Regions from separate parts of the Homo sapiens genome. Here region 2 is linked to region 1. Evidence: promoter capture Hi-C in 16 types of primary human blood cells and fetal thymus (Javierre and others, 2016). All regions are on one chromosome and are shown on one strand. Each heading gives the region's core, a stretch centred on a gene start or on the middle of the fragment in contact. The rest is flanking DNA. Distances are from core to core; before and after follow the strand shown.

Evidence for each region. The method cuts DNA at HindIII sites, captures the fragments that hold promoters and counts their contacts. A CHiCAGO score of 5 or more calls a contact.
Region 2: a contact is called between a fragment that was not itself captured here and the fragment with the promoter of MYH3 in region 1, in 1 of 17 cell types (endothelial precursors). The highest score is 5.6, in endothelial precursors.

The regions. Positions count from the first base shown.
Region 1 is chr17:10,654,192-10,660,208 of GRCh38, reverse strand. MYH3 (myosin heavy chain 3) reads left to right here and starts at 2,900. Exons shown (of 41, transcript NM_002470.4): 1 at 2,900-2,920; 2 at 4,061-4,119; 3 at 5,137-5,348. The coding sequence starts at 5,145. The HindIII fragment of the contact is 3,770 bases long and covers 405-4,174 here.
Region 2 is chr17:11,958,492-11,964,508 of GRCh38, reverse strand. It overlaps DNAH9 (dynein axonemal heavy chain 9), which reads right to left. Exons shown (of 69, transcript NM_001372.4): 68 at 2,253-2,642. LOC124903928 (a long non-coding RNA gene) reads left to right here and starts at 4,295. Exons shown (of 2, transcript XR_007065622.1): 1 at 4,295-4,378; 2 at 5,780-6,017. The HindIII fragment of the contact is 740 bases long and covers 2,249-2,988 here.

The sequences.
Region 1 (6,017 bases), core at 1,651-4,150:
TGGTGTGTGCGATGTTGGGATATCCCGCTGAATGCACATAACTAGTCTGGGAGGCAGGTATGTCACCCCCGTTTTACAGAGGAGAAGACGAAGGCTCAAAGAAGCACACTGCCTGCCATCACGTGGTGTGCAAGCGGGCAAGCCGGGATCCACATCCAGGCCTGTAGGACTCTCAGCTCCATGCTCCTCCTGCTCCGACCTGCTGCTGTGGAAGTACATGCAGTTCTCACCTCTCCTAAAGATACGTTTCCAAATGACCAGACTTTGTGATTCCTGATATCCAGCTTTTCAACTGCTCTCCAGACTGCCGTGGGTGCTGTCCCTTCCAGCCACTGCGGGATTTCTCCTGGAGAGCTGACCTCTATCCCTGACGCTGGCCCTCTTCTCACCGCTTCCAGCAAGCTTCCTGTGGCTCCTGCCTTCGGTTTCCTCATCTGAAAAGGAGACAGTTCAGCCAAAGAGATGGTTCAGCAGGGTGTTCTTTCTCCCTCATTTGAACGCGATCAGCATGGGTGCCTTTCTGGTCCACTCAACACCTTTGATCTTGTACCACACAGTTCATCTGGGGGAACGTGTCTTCCTCTTCTCAGCCCTACAGACGAATGCCTCTTTGAAGGCAGGGACCAGGCCATCTCCATGTGGAGCACTCTGGAAGTTCTGGGTTCTGTGCCTGACACATAAAAAGTGTCCAGTGATGTCTATATTACTGAAAAATAAATACGTAAGATAGGAGGAATGATCCAGACTAAAAGAAACTGCCAAGATCTCACAGCTGAACACTCTAGGAGTCTGTGACGTTTTCTCCTAGATTCACTTATATTTGTTTGCTGAAGATGAAGAATTCTGATGAAGAGAAGGAAGGAAACAAGGACAGTGTGGAAAGCCAGGCGAGAAGCCATCAGCATTTTAGAGCTTGTATTAGGTCCTAACGTGATATGGGTGCTCTCTTAAGGGAACTAAAAGAAATGTTGAAGGGAATATTTCTTTTCTGTCTCCTGGAGGTGAGTATGGATGTAGTTATATAGATAGATGAGTACATTGGTCACTGCAAAAGGGAAAAAGCAAAATTGCCCCCTATTTCATTTCCACACAGTTCCTCCTGTCAACAGGTCTGGGTGTTGACGTAGGAACTGCAAGTTCCCACGTCCACCCCCGCCACACCCACAGCCTGCCCTGCATACACCACTGCTGGAGATGTAGCCAGGACAGCTTGCCCTGTCCCCTGACCCCACGGACCTTGTTAACACCGCTGCTCCCCTCGGTGATATTTACCTGTCCGTGGCTGTCCTGACCAATACTCCCAAGGAGACAGTGCATCACTGGGCCAACAGGGCAGAGCCCCAGGGGACCACTCCCTTTACGACATGGACGGACACTTTAGGAGTGACGGTTACCCTCTCCTTGGATGAGGAGGGGCTCCAAGGATGGACATGTCAGTCTCACCTGGAGGGAGAGGGGCAGTGGGTGGGGGCAACGCTCAGTGGCTGGTGGACAGGCAAGGGGTGAGTGAGCCCTGCCCAACTGACTCCATTGGCGGCCACTGGCCTTGCCTGGCATTCACGGAACAGGCGCTTCATAAACTTGTTGCTTCAATGTGAAATCACCTCAATTTTGTAAATGCGTCTGTAGCATCCACAGGACTCATCATCTAGAATTCAAACCCTTAAGGGTAAAGGCTGCGTCTTCTGTTTCCTCTGCGTCTTCTCGAAGCACTGTGTGTAAGGGCCAGAGCACAGAGGATGTTTCATACACGTGCCTTTGCCCTGAGACCGCAGCCCTGCCTCCCCGGTCCCACGCAGACCTCATGGAGTGGCCTCCACTTCGGGGCTTGGTACTGCTGTGTACGGAAGGGGCGGTTTCTATGGGAAACATGGACAAACAGTTCTATTTGGAATAAGCAACCACAGGGTGCCCACCCAGCCATCCTCCCAAAGATTTGTCAAGAAAAAAAAAGTAGAACGAGAATGGGCAAAAGCGTCCGACATACTTTACTCTTCTCTTGAGGCTTTATTTTTCCACTCCTGATTTAGAGATGACCACATTTGTTAGACAGCCCCCCCTTGTCCGCCCTTTCTCTGCAGGCCACCACCGTTCCCCCTACCCCATCCCAGCCAGCAGCTGGTCTTTCCTAATTGGTAATCTGTCTTAATAGCCACAGGTCCTCAGGCAGCTGTCGCCGGGAATACGAGCTGGCAGCATAGATCCACGTCACTAACTTAACTGGCTGGTCCTATTAGAGCTTAAGAAAGAATTAAGTTAATAATGATACTAATGAGACAGAACGTTGCATAGGAGAAAATAAGAGAAAGAAGGAGAGGAGTAGAAGGAGGAGAAGGGAGAAGAGGGCAAGGGGGGAGGGGAATTATTGCTATTAATTATTATTATTATTAATTATTCCTGGCACAGGTTTTGCAATCACAACCCAAGGTTGTGATAAAATCTTGCTCAAAATTCAAAAAGGATTTCAACTTTTCACTCTCAGTCTTATTCACTTTTCCATATGATGAGATTTCTAAGTAAGCCACCCGACTTCAGTCCTTGGTGCCCAATAGCTAGGGGCTCACGCCGCGTTCAGGGTGTGATGAGCGCCTGAGAACGGAGGTGGCTGCCCCCGCAACTCCTCCTGGAGTGAGGCCATCCCATCCCATCAGGGGAGGGAGCACCGGCCCCAAGTTCAGAGAAAGGCATCCCAAGCTCCTGACATTCTGCGGTCGGAAAATGGTGATGGATCCTGCTCATTTCTAATTATACCTTTCCCTTGGCAACGACAAAGATACGTGTGGAAGAAGCTGGTTCTCGGCTTGGGGGGGCCACTCATCCTCTTGCCAAATATAGAGAAGGAATGAGCCGCGGGGGTTACCAATGGCCTATAAAAGCCCCGGGGAGCAGCCAGCCCTCTGTGGCTCGCTTGTGGGCGGAGGTAAGTCACAGGCTCCTCTTCTAGGTCTCAGCTGCTTGGAGCACACCCACCCGGTGAGCACATCCACACCCCGTGCGTGGTTCCCTGGCCCTGCCTGGCTCTGCTGAGGTGGCGCCTCATGCCTTTCTGAGTTTTCTTAGGATAAGCAAGGTGTAGAGAGCGAGGTTCCCTGGGCCCAAACACCCAGCACCCTCTGGCTCCAGCACCTCCCCCAAGCAGGAGCCCTGCAGGTTCTCTCTCCTCCACACACTCTCCCCTGTCCTCCTCTCCAAGTGTCCTCTTGGGCAGGATCCTTTTGGATGCCCCGTGAGCCCAGCTGCCATGGCTTGACCTTCTCCCATTGCCTCTGTGACCCATGAAGGGTCAACAGGACTGGGGACCTCACTCTGCCCTCACCTTCCCCACCTGGGCTGTACATCTGCCAGGTGTCTTGTCCTCTCAAGACCACACTGGCTGTGGGCATTGCGTGTAAATTAATCTCAGAGATATTGCCTGTTCACAGACAAGGAGACCTGCCCCTGCCCTCGAACTGTTGACTTTAAGCAGGGATGCGGTCCCTGCTGTCCGATTCTAAATGGGAGTGAGGAAGACTGAAGAAGGTGCCAGTGCAGGCTGAGAGAAACCAGATTTCTGCACAGCTGAGGGTTTTTCCTCCCTGCCTGGCTTCCTGTGGGTCACGTCCCATCTGCTCTTCCATCTTCCAGCCTGCCTCTTTAAAGTATTAGTCTTTTTTTTTTTTTTTTTTTTTTTTGAGACAGAATTTTGCTCTTGTCGCCCAGGCTGGAGTGCAATGGCACAATCTCGGCTCACTGCAACCTCTGTCTCCCAGGTTCAAATGATTCTCCTGCCTAAGCCTCCAGAGTAGCTGGGATCACAGGCATCTGCCGCCACGCCCAGCAATTTTTTAAATTTATTTTTTATTTTTAGTAGAGAAGGGGTTTCACTATGTTGGCCAGACTGGTCTCAAACTCCTGACCTCAGGCCATCTTTCCGCCTCGGCTTCCCAAAGTGCTGGGATTACAGGCGTGAGCCATGGCGCCTGGCCCCTTTATCCTTTTTAGTTAACTCGTCAGAAGCCGATTCTACATGGACGCAGCCACCCCAAGTGCCGCTAAGTTGTGTATGTGCATATTCTTCCAGGTCTGGGATCTCCTGGCTGTTGCTGTCTTCTGCTCTCATCCTGCAGGTGGGACTCTCAGGTGAGAAGTTGGGCCCTGTCCCTCGGCTGTTGGAGATCTCCAGGCAATCCAAGCTTGCCAGTTCCTTTCTCCCTCCTCCCACCGGCCATAAGGGCACAGAGGGACAGGGGAACTAGCACATTTAGACAAGGACAGGTCGTGGCCGGGTGCAATGGCTCACACCTGTAATCCCAGCACTTTGAGAGGCCGAGGTGGGCAGATCATGAGGTCAGGAGTTCAAGACCAGCCTGACCAACATGGTGAAACCCCGTCTCTACTAAAAATAGAAAAATTAGCAGGACGTGGTGGCAAGTGCCTGTAATCCCAGCTACTCAAGAGACTGAGGCAGGAGTATCGCTTGAACCTGGGAGGCAGAAGTTGCAGTTAGTGGAGATCGTGCCACTGCACTCCAGTCTGTGACAGAGTGAGACTCCATCTCAAAAAAAAAAGGCAAGGACAGGTCAGGCGGGAGAGGAGGTGGCATTTGGGGGACTGTCAAACAGATGCTGATGTCAGATGCTTGATTTTGTTCTTAGCAACCCAAGGAAGCAAAAGGCAGGTTCCCGCATACGAGCGTGTAGCCACCTTGATTGAAATGGTTCAAAAATATCTTTGCTGTTTGCCATTAGCACACTCTCTTTGAAGATGGCGTTTATTTTTTAAGGGTGTTTATTTTTAAACGTTCCCTCAGCAACACCTGGTTGTCACAGAAGCGGAAAAGGCGGTCCCAAGAGTGGTGCTCACTTCCAAACCCCTTATCGCCAGTTCAAGCCTCAGATGCTTGAGGAGCTTGGGTTAAATAGGCTGTAAGACTGTCGCACAAGAAGCCCCTCAATAAATATGCACCCGTGTGATTTCCCAGCACTGAAGCCCTTTGGGTGGAGCTTCTCAAGGCATGAGGACAGCCTGGTTCCTGGGGCCCTGACTCTGAGGGCTCCTGCGGCTGAAGGAGGGCAGGGTGGAGGCTGAAACAGGCCTGGAGCTGCTGGGTGCCTGGCAAGGGGGCTGCTGAGCTCACCGGGTGGGTTTGCCTTCCAGCTGACACCATGAGTAGTGACACTGAAATGGAAGTGTTCGGCATAGCTGCTCCTTTCCTCCGGAAGTCAGAAAAGGAGAGGATCGAGGCTCAGAACCAGCCCTTTGATGCCAAGACGTATTGCTTCGTGGTGGACTCAAAGGAAGAATATGCCAAGGGGAAAATCAAGAGTTCTCAGGATGGGAAGGTCACTGTGGAAACTGAGGACAACAGGGTAAGGCTCTGTACCCTCCACAGGCTGCTGGCCCTCCACCTGGTCCTTGTGCTTGCCTGGGGTATGCATCTGCCCAACCCCAGCCACTTCCAGATGTGGTTCCAGCACTGGAATGCCGCATACAATGTAGCCTGGGGCTTCCCAGGTATCCTCAGAGAAAGCAGAGTGAATACTGGCCTCAGGTTCCAGGGTGGGAATAGAGTCTGGCTGTGGCTGATTAAAACAATTAGTTTTCAGGTATTTTTGTCCACGTTCACTGTAGGCCAGAGGGGCCCAGCTCCACGTGTCCCAAGGGTGTGGAGTTGGGAGTTCAACATGAATGAGCGCTGTTTCAGAACACTCTCCTTTGGTAGCCTAGATTTGTCCCAAATTATTCTATCAATGGCCATCTAACCAAGGAAGTAAGGAAAATGTGTTAGGGATCCTAGGGGACCACAAGCTCAGTGAAATAGCAGCCTCCTTGTATCATGAAGGGGATGAGCACTGCAGCCCATTACATTCTGGCCCAAGCCACTGTGGGGGTGCTGCGAGGAATTCTGGAGCTCACTAGTTTCTAAAATCCACATCAGGAGAATCTGGAAAAGTCCCAAGAAAAGTAAAAAGCAAAAAAAGGAAAAAAGAAAGAAAGAGTGAAAGAGAGATGGAGGGAAGGAAGGAAGGAAAGAAAGA
Region 2 (6,017 bases), core at 1,369-3,868, 1.3 Mb before region 1:
CTGGGATAAAACCTTTGAGAACAACAGCTTTTGGTGAAGAAGTATTGATTTTGGGGAAGTTTTTATTATTATTTACAATGAGGTATGAAAAATGGGAGGTTGACAATTGAAACTGATATCATTCCCCCACTTCCAGTGTCACTGACTTTCCTTCTGAGCTTCTTGCCTACTTTCCTTTTGGTACTTCTCTCATTTTGGTGGTTTGGAGGATTCTATTAATAGCTGTGGCTTGCTCTAGGCCACCTTATACCTAATGCAATCCATATATGATCTCCACTGACAGAATCTTGTGCAAATGTTCAGGTGGAGAGAGGGAAGTCAACTTCCTTCTCAAGATTCAGGCTTTCTAAACATTACCCTACTTTACTGTCCTTTCTGTTGGCTCTTGAATTGCTTTCCTAGGGCTGGCATAATAAAATGCCACAAACTTGATGGCTTGAAACAACATATTATCTCACAGTTCTGGAGGCCAGAAGTCCTAAGTCAAAGTATGGGCAGAGTTGGTCCTCCTGGAGGTTCTGAAGCAGAAACCATCCCATACCTTTCCTAGCTTCTGATGGTTGCTGGTAATCCCTGGAATTCCTCGGCTTGTAGATACATCACTCCAATTCTGCCTCTGTCTTCATAGGGAATTCTCTTCTGTGTCTCTACATGGTCTTCTTTGTTTTGTTTTTTTGAGGTAATTTGTTTAACTGCAAGCCTATATGGAATGAATGAATACATTTCCTACTGCTAATATACTCCATGAGACTTTACTTGCTATATCCACTAGAATGGTAAGCATTATAAAACATGTCTCAACAAAATTTTCCATCTCTTTTCCTTTTAGTTTCTTTTTTTTAAAAAAAATTTCAACTCTTAGATACAGGGGATACATATGCAGATTTGTTACATGGGAATATTGTATGATGCTGAGGTTTGGAGTATGGATCCCTTCATCTAGTTAGTGAGCATAGTACCGGATAGTTAGTTTTTATTAACCCCCACCTCTCCCTACACCCTCTAATAATCCAGTGTCTATTGTTCCCATATCTGTGCCCATCTATGTGGTCGTTGTCTTCTTTTTTTTTTTTTGAGACGGAGTTTTGCTCTTGTTGCCCAGGCTGGAATGCAATGGTGCGATCTCGGCTCACTGCAACCTCCACCTCCCGGGTTCAAGCGATTCTCCTGCTTCAGCATTCCGAGTAGCTGGGATAACAGGCATGCACCACCATGCCCGGCTAATTTTGTATTTTTAGTAGAGATGGGGTTTCTCCATGTTGGTCAGGCTGGTCTCAAACTCCTGACCTCAGGTGATCTGCCCGCCTCGGCCTCCCAAAGTGCTGGGATTACAGGTGTGAGCCACTGTGCCCGACCTGTGTGTCTTCTTATAAGGGCACTGGTCATTGGATTTAGGGTTCATGATAATCCAGTATGACCTCATCATAACTAATTACATCTGCAAAGACCTTATTTCTAAATAATCATTCTGGGGTTATGCCTAGACATGAATTTTTGGGGGCACTACTTAACCAAGTAAATCTCTATTTGCATATTCTTATTGGTGACAAAACATCTTCTCCAATCTCATGTGACTCACGTTTTTATTAGCCTTTGATAAGGAATCCTTTCAAAATGCCACTTTAAGTGATATCTACTGGCTCCTCTTTGCCAACATAGGACAACATAAAAGGCAGAAGATTCCTGCCCTTTGAGAGCTCATGAATGTGGAAAGTGGACCAAGGAGGTGAGGCAGGAGAATTGCTTGAACTCGGGAGGCGGAGGTTGCAGTGAGCTAAGATCGTGCCACTGTACTCCAGCCTGGGCGACAGACACACAGCAGCAGCAGCAGAGATAGCTGACTCCAACATTTTTTGATAACTGCCTATGTGCCAGGCACTGTTCAAGTGTCTTACATATTAGCTCGTTTAACTTTTACAATGACGCTCTTCTCCCATCTAACAGGTGAGGTCTGGAAAGGTGAAACTATATCTAAAGTTACAGAGTTAATAAATGGTGGTGCTGGGATTCAGACCCAGCCAGTCTGGTTCCAAAGCCCTTGCTATTAACCTCTCCACTCTACTGCCTCTGCAAAACTTACGCTCTTTGCACCACCCCTGGCTAAATAAAAATGGCCTGATGGCCTCAAGGAAAGAAGGTTAGCTAGAGAAAAAGATTCAGGAATATCTCTTTTAGTAGTCACACTTCATAGGAAGCAATGTGTATTTAATCAGCCCCCAGAAAGCTGCCCTTTGGTTCATTCCAAGCTTTACCTGTGTGTCCCAGCAGGCACCTTCCATGAAGAGGCCATGGATGTAGGCCCCTTCCCGAGGAGGACTCCTAAACTCTTCTCTGTTCTTCTTCGTCATGTCACATTGCAGGGCCATCTGGTCCAGTGGCCACTCATTCTTGCGAGCCGTGGACTGCATGATGGCAGTCAGGAACGACTGGGGGTTGAAGAAGCCTGTCAGCCACACAGTGGAGGGCATTGTAAAGTCACCCGTCCAAGCCTCTAGCTCCTTGATTCTGTTGAGGAGGTCTGGAAACCAGGCTGCCAGGCCTGCTGTGGAAGGGTAGGCTCGTCTAGCCCAGGACTCTGGCACCATATCGAAGTACAGGGCATTCTGTAAGTTCTCCATGTGGCTGGTCATAGTCAGCTCCCCCTGAAGATAAAGAATGGGAGGGGGAAAGCGTGAGAAGGTGGGAAGTCCCTGAAAACACCTGGCCTCAGAGACCCCTGGCTCATGGCACCCAGGCAGACAAGAGTTATCCATCCTTGTTCATGTCATTTGAACATAAAACTCCAGGGGTAGGTGACACAATGACTGTCCTGTCTAGTACTTGCTTTGGAAGGTTTGTCTCACAGAAGCTGGTCCTTGAAAACCCTCCCTGCTCTGATGTCAGAGTCTCAACTGTTCTACTCACAGTGTTTCAAAAGACACAATTGCTTCCCATTGCAGACCTTAAACCACTTGTGGGTTCAGTGCCACATGACCTTAGCCTAAAGCTTAAATTCCATGACTCTCCTGCATGCAGCTTAGAAACCCAAGAAGCCAGCGCCTACAAAGATCTATATTCCCCCAAATCAGGGATTTCTTTCAGAAATCGAGCTATTGGATATGTAATCAACTTTAAGGGACACTCTTTCAACAGCTAGATAGGATTTGTAAAGAAAGGTTTACACTGAACACCATCTTTATTTTTTTTTATTTTTGGAGACGGAGTCTCACTCTATTGCCCAGGCTGGAGTGCAGTGGTGCAATCTCTGCTCACTGCAACCTCCGCCTCCCAGGTTCAAGTGATTCTTCTGCCTCAGTCTCTTGAGTAGCTGGGATTACAGGCACCTGCCACCACACCCGGCTAATTTTTGTATTTTCAGTAGAGACAGGGTTTCACCATGTTGGTCTGGCTGGTCTTGAACTCCTGACCTCAAGTGATCAGCCCACCTCAGCCTCCCAAAGTGCTGGGATTACAGGCATGAGCCACCGCGCCCGGCCTGAACACTATGTTTAAAGCAAACTTTGTAACTTTGGCTCTGCCAATGATCTGTGGCAATTTCTTGAAGACCCCATTTCTATTGTTGTGGTTTCTGTAATAGGTGTTAGGGCACCTGACAGCGTTTGGCTGTCTCATCAAGGGCAGACTGCTAAAATGTAAGATGTTCTCACCTCCGTAGGGCCTGGAGTCTCCTGGCCTGTGGGACAGGAGACTGGCACATGGAATTCTAGATCTAACTTTTTCTCTTAACTTTTGGAATTCTTTTTTTTTCTGGAGACGGTGTCTTGCTCTGTCACCCAGGCGGGAGTGCAGGGGCGCAATCTCTGCTCACTGCAACCTCCGCCTCCCGGGTTCAAGCGATTCTTCTGCCTCAGCTTCCTGAGTAGCTGGGATTACAGGCATCTGTCACTATGCCCAGCTAATTTTGTATTTTTAGTAGAGATGGGGTTTCACCATGTTGGCCAGGCTGGTCTCGAACTCCTGACCCTGACCTCAGGTGATCTGCCCACCTCAATCTCCAGAATTGATGGGATTACAGGCATGAGCCTCCGCACCCAGCCACTTTTGGATTTTTTTTTTTTTTTTTTTTTTTTTTTAAGACAGAGTCTTGCTCTGTCACCCAGGCTGGAGTGCAGTAGCACGATCTCAGCTCACGGCAACCTCTGCCTCCCGAGCTCAAGGAATTCTCCTGCCTCAGCCTCCCAAGTAGCTGGGATTACAGGCGCCCACCACCACACCCGACTAATTTTTGTATTTTTAGTAGAGACGGGGTTTCACCATGTTGGCCATGCTGGTCTCAAATTCCTGACCTCAGGTGATCCACCCGCCTTGGCCTCCCAAAATGCTGGGATTACAGGCGTGAGCCACTGCACCTGGCCCACTTTTGGAATTCTTAAAAACAGTTAAGCATACCTACCTTAAGATGAACATATTTCAGTCTCCTGAGTGACAGCCAGAGGCTCCTGATTTATAAGAAATAAACTGGTAACTTCTTTATGAACTTCCTACATGAAGTATAATTATTACGAATTCACTTTCTAGACTGTAGTGTCTGGTGGCCGGACTATTTTAAGACATAAAAACCTCAATGTTTTAAAGAAAAGACCAATATCCCTAATCAGACCAGCAACAGATGGACCAGCCTGAATGAGTACAGTGTGAATTACAAACATTTTCCCCCAAGTAACAGGACTTTATTACAGGGATAGAAAATAGATTTCATTCCACGTATTTATCCAGATGTTTTGAGGTGAATGACCAGAGCAGGGTGTTGTGATGAATCTGAGGCCACATCAAGGCTCCATGGGATGTAAAAGAGCCCTGTATGTGCCACCAACATTTATCACTTTCAACCAAACCCGAATTTGATGAGCAAGTTTTTTCTGGTAGATTTCCCTAAGGATCTGCTGAAATGAATATCATTATTAGGTTAAAATAGAAAAAAACTGTTTCCTTTGTTTGGAATCTCTGCTTTAGTGTACACAGGCTTCTGAGAAATGGGTTTAATATGCTGCTTATATCTCTGAGCCCAAATCAAGCTTCTGAGACAATACGGTCTTCCTCATATCTGTAGTTATGTGATAATTCATTGCTACATGCAATGTATAGCTTATGTAATAATTGTTTCCCTTTAAATAGCTGATTATTTAATAAAATAACATTAAGTATAAAGATGAAATTTAGTGCAAAGGACAAAATAAATGATCAAAGAAGATCATTCACTTTGTTTTATGAGACCCCATCTGTGTAGCCATGTCTTCCCTTACCACGTTATGAAGGACATTCATGGCAATGATGAACAAAAGTGATGAGGATGGAAAACCTTGCCTTGTTCCCAAACTTAGAGAGAAAGCAGGCAGTCCCTCACAATTAAATATGTTTTCTTTGGATATCCTTTAAGTTGACATTTCCTTTGATTTCTGTTTTTTTTTTGATATTTTAAAATGAAGATTTGGTGTTCAATTTTGTCAAACGCCTTCTCTGCATTTATGAAGATGATCATATGATTTTTAAATGTAGCACATTAATATGGTAAACTTCACTGACTGATTTTTGAATCTTAAAACTAATCTTGTATTCCTAGGATTACCGCATTTAGCCATGATATATTATCTTATTCTTATATTGTGTGATTTGATTTGTTAACATTTTGCTAAGGAATTTTGCATTTGTGTTTATGAGGAAAGCTGATCTGTCATTTGCTCATAACGTATTTGGTGTCACGTTAATTCTGTTTTCATAAAATTTGTTGAGAAGTTTTCTCTATGCCTTTTCTTAATATACTTTATTTTTTTTTTTTTAGGGCAGTTTTAGTTTCACAGCAAATTGAGCAGCAAGTACAGAGATTACCCTTATATCTTCTGCCTCGACACATGCACAACCTCCACCACTATCAACATTCCCCACCAGAGCGGTACCTTTGTTACAAGTGATGCACCTGCATTCACCTCATTATCACTCAGAGTCCGTAGTTTACCGTAGGGTTTGCCCTTTGCGTTGTACATTCTATGTGTTTGGACAAATTTATAATGACATGTATC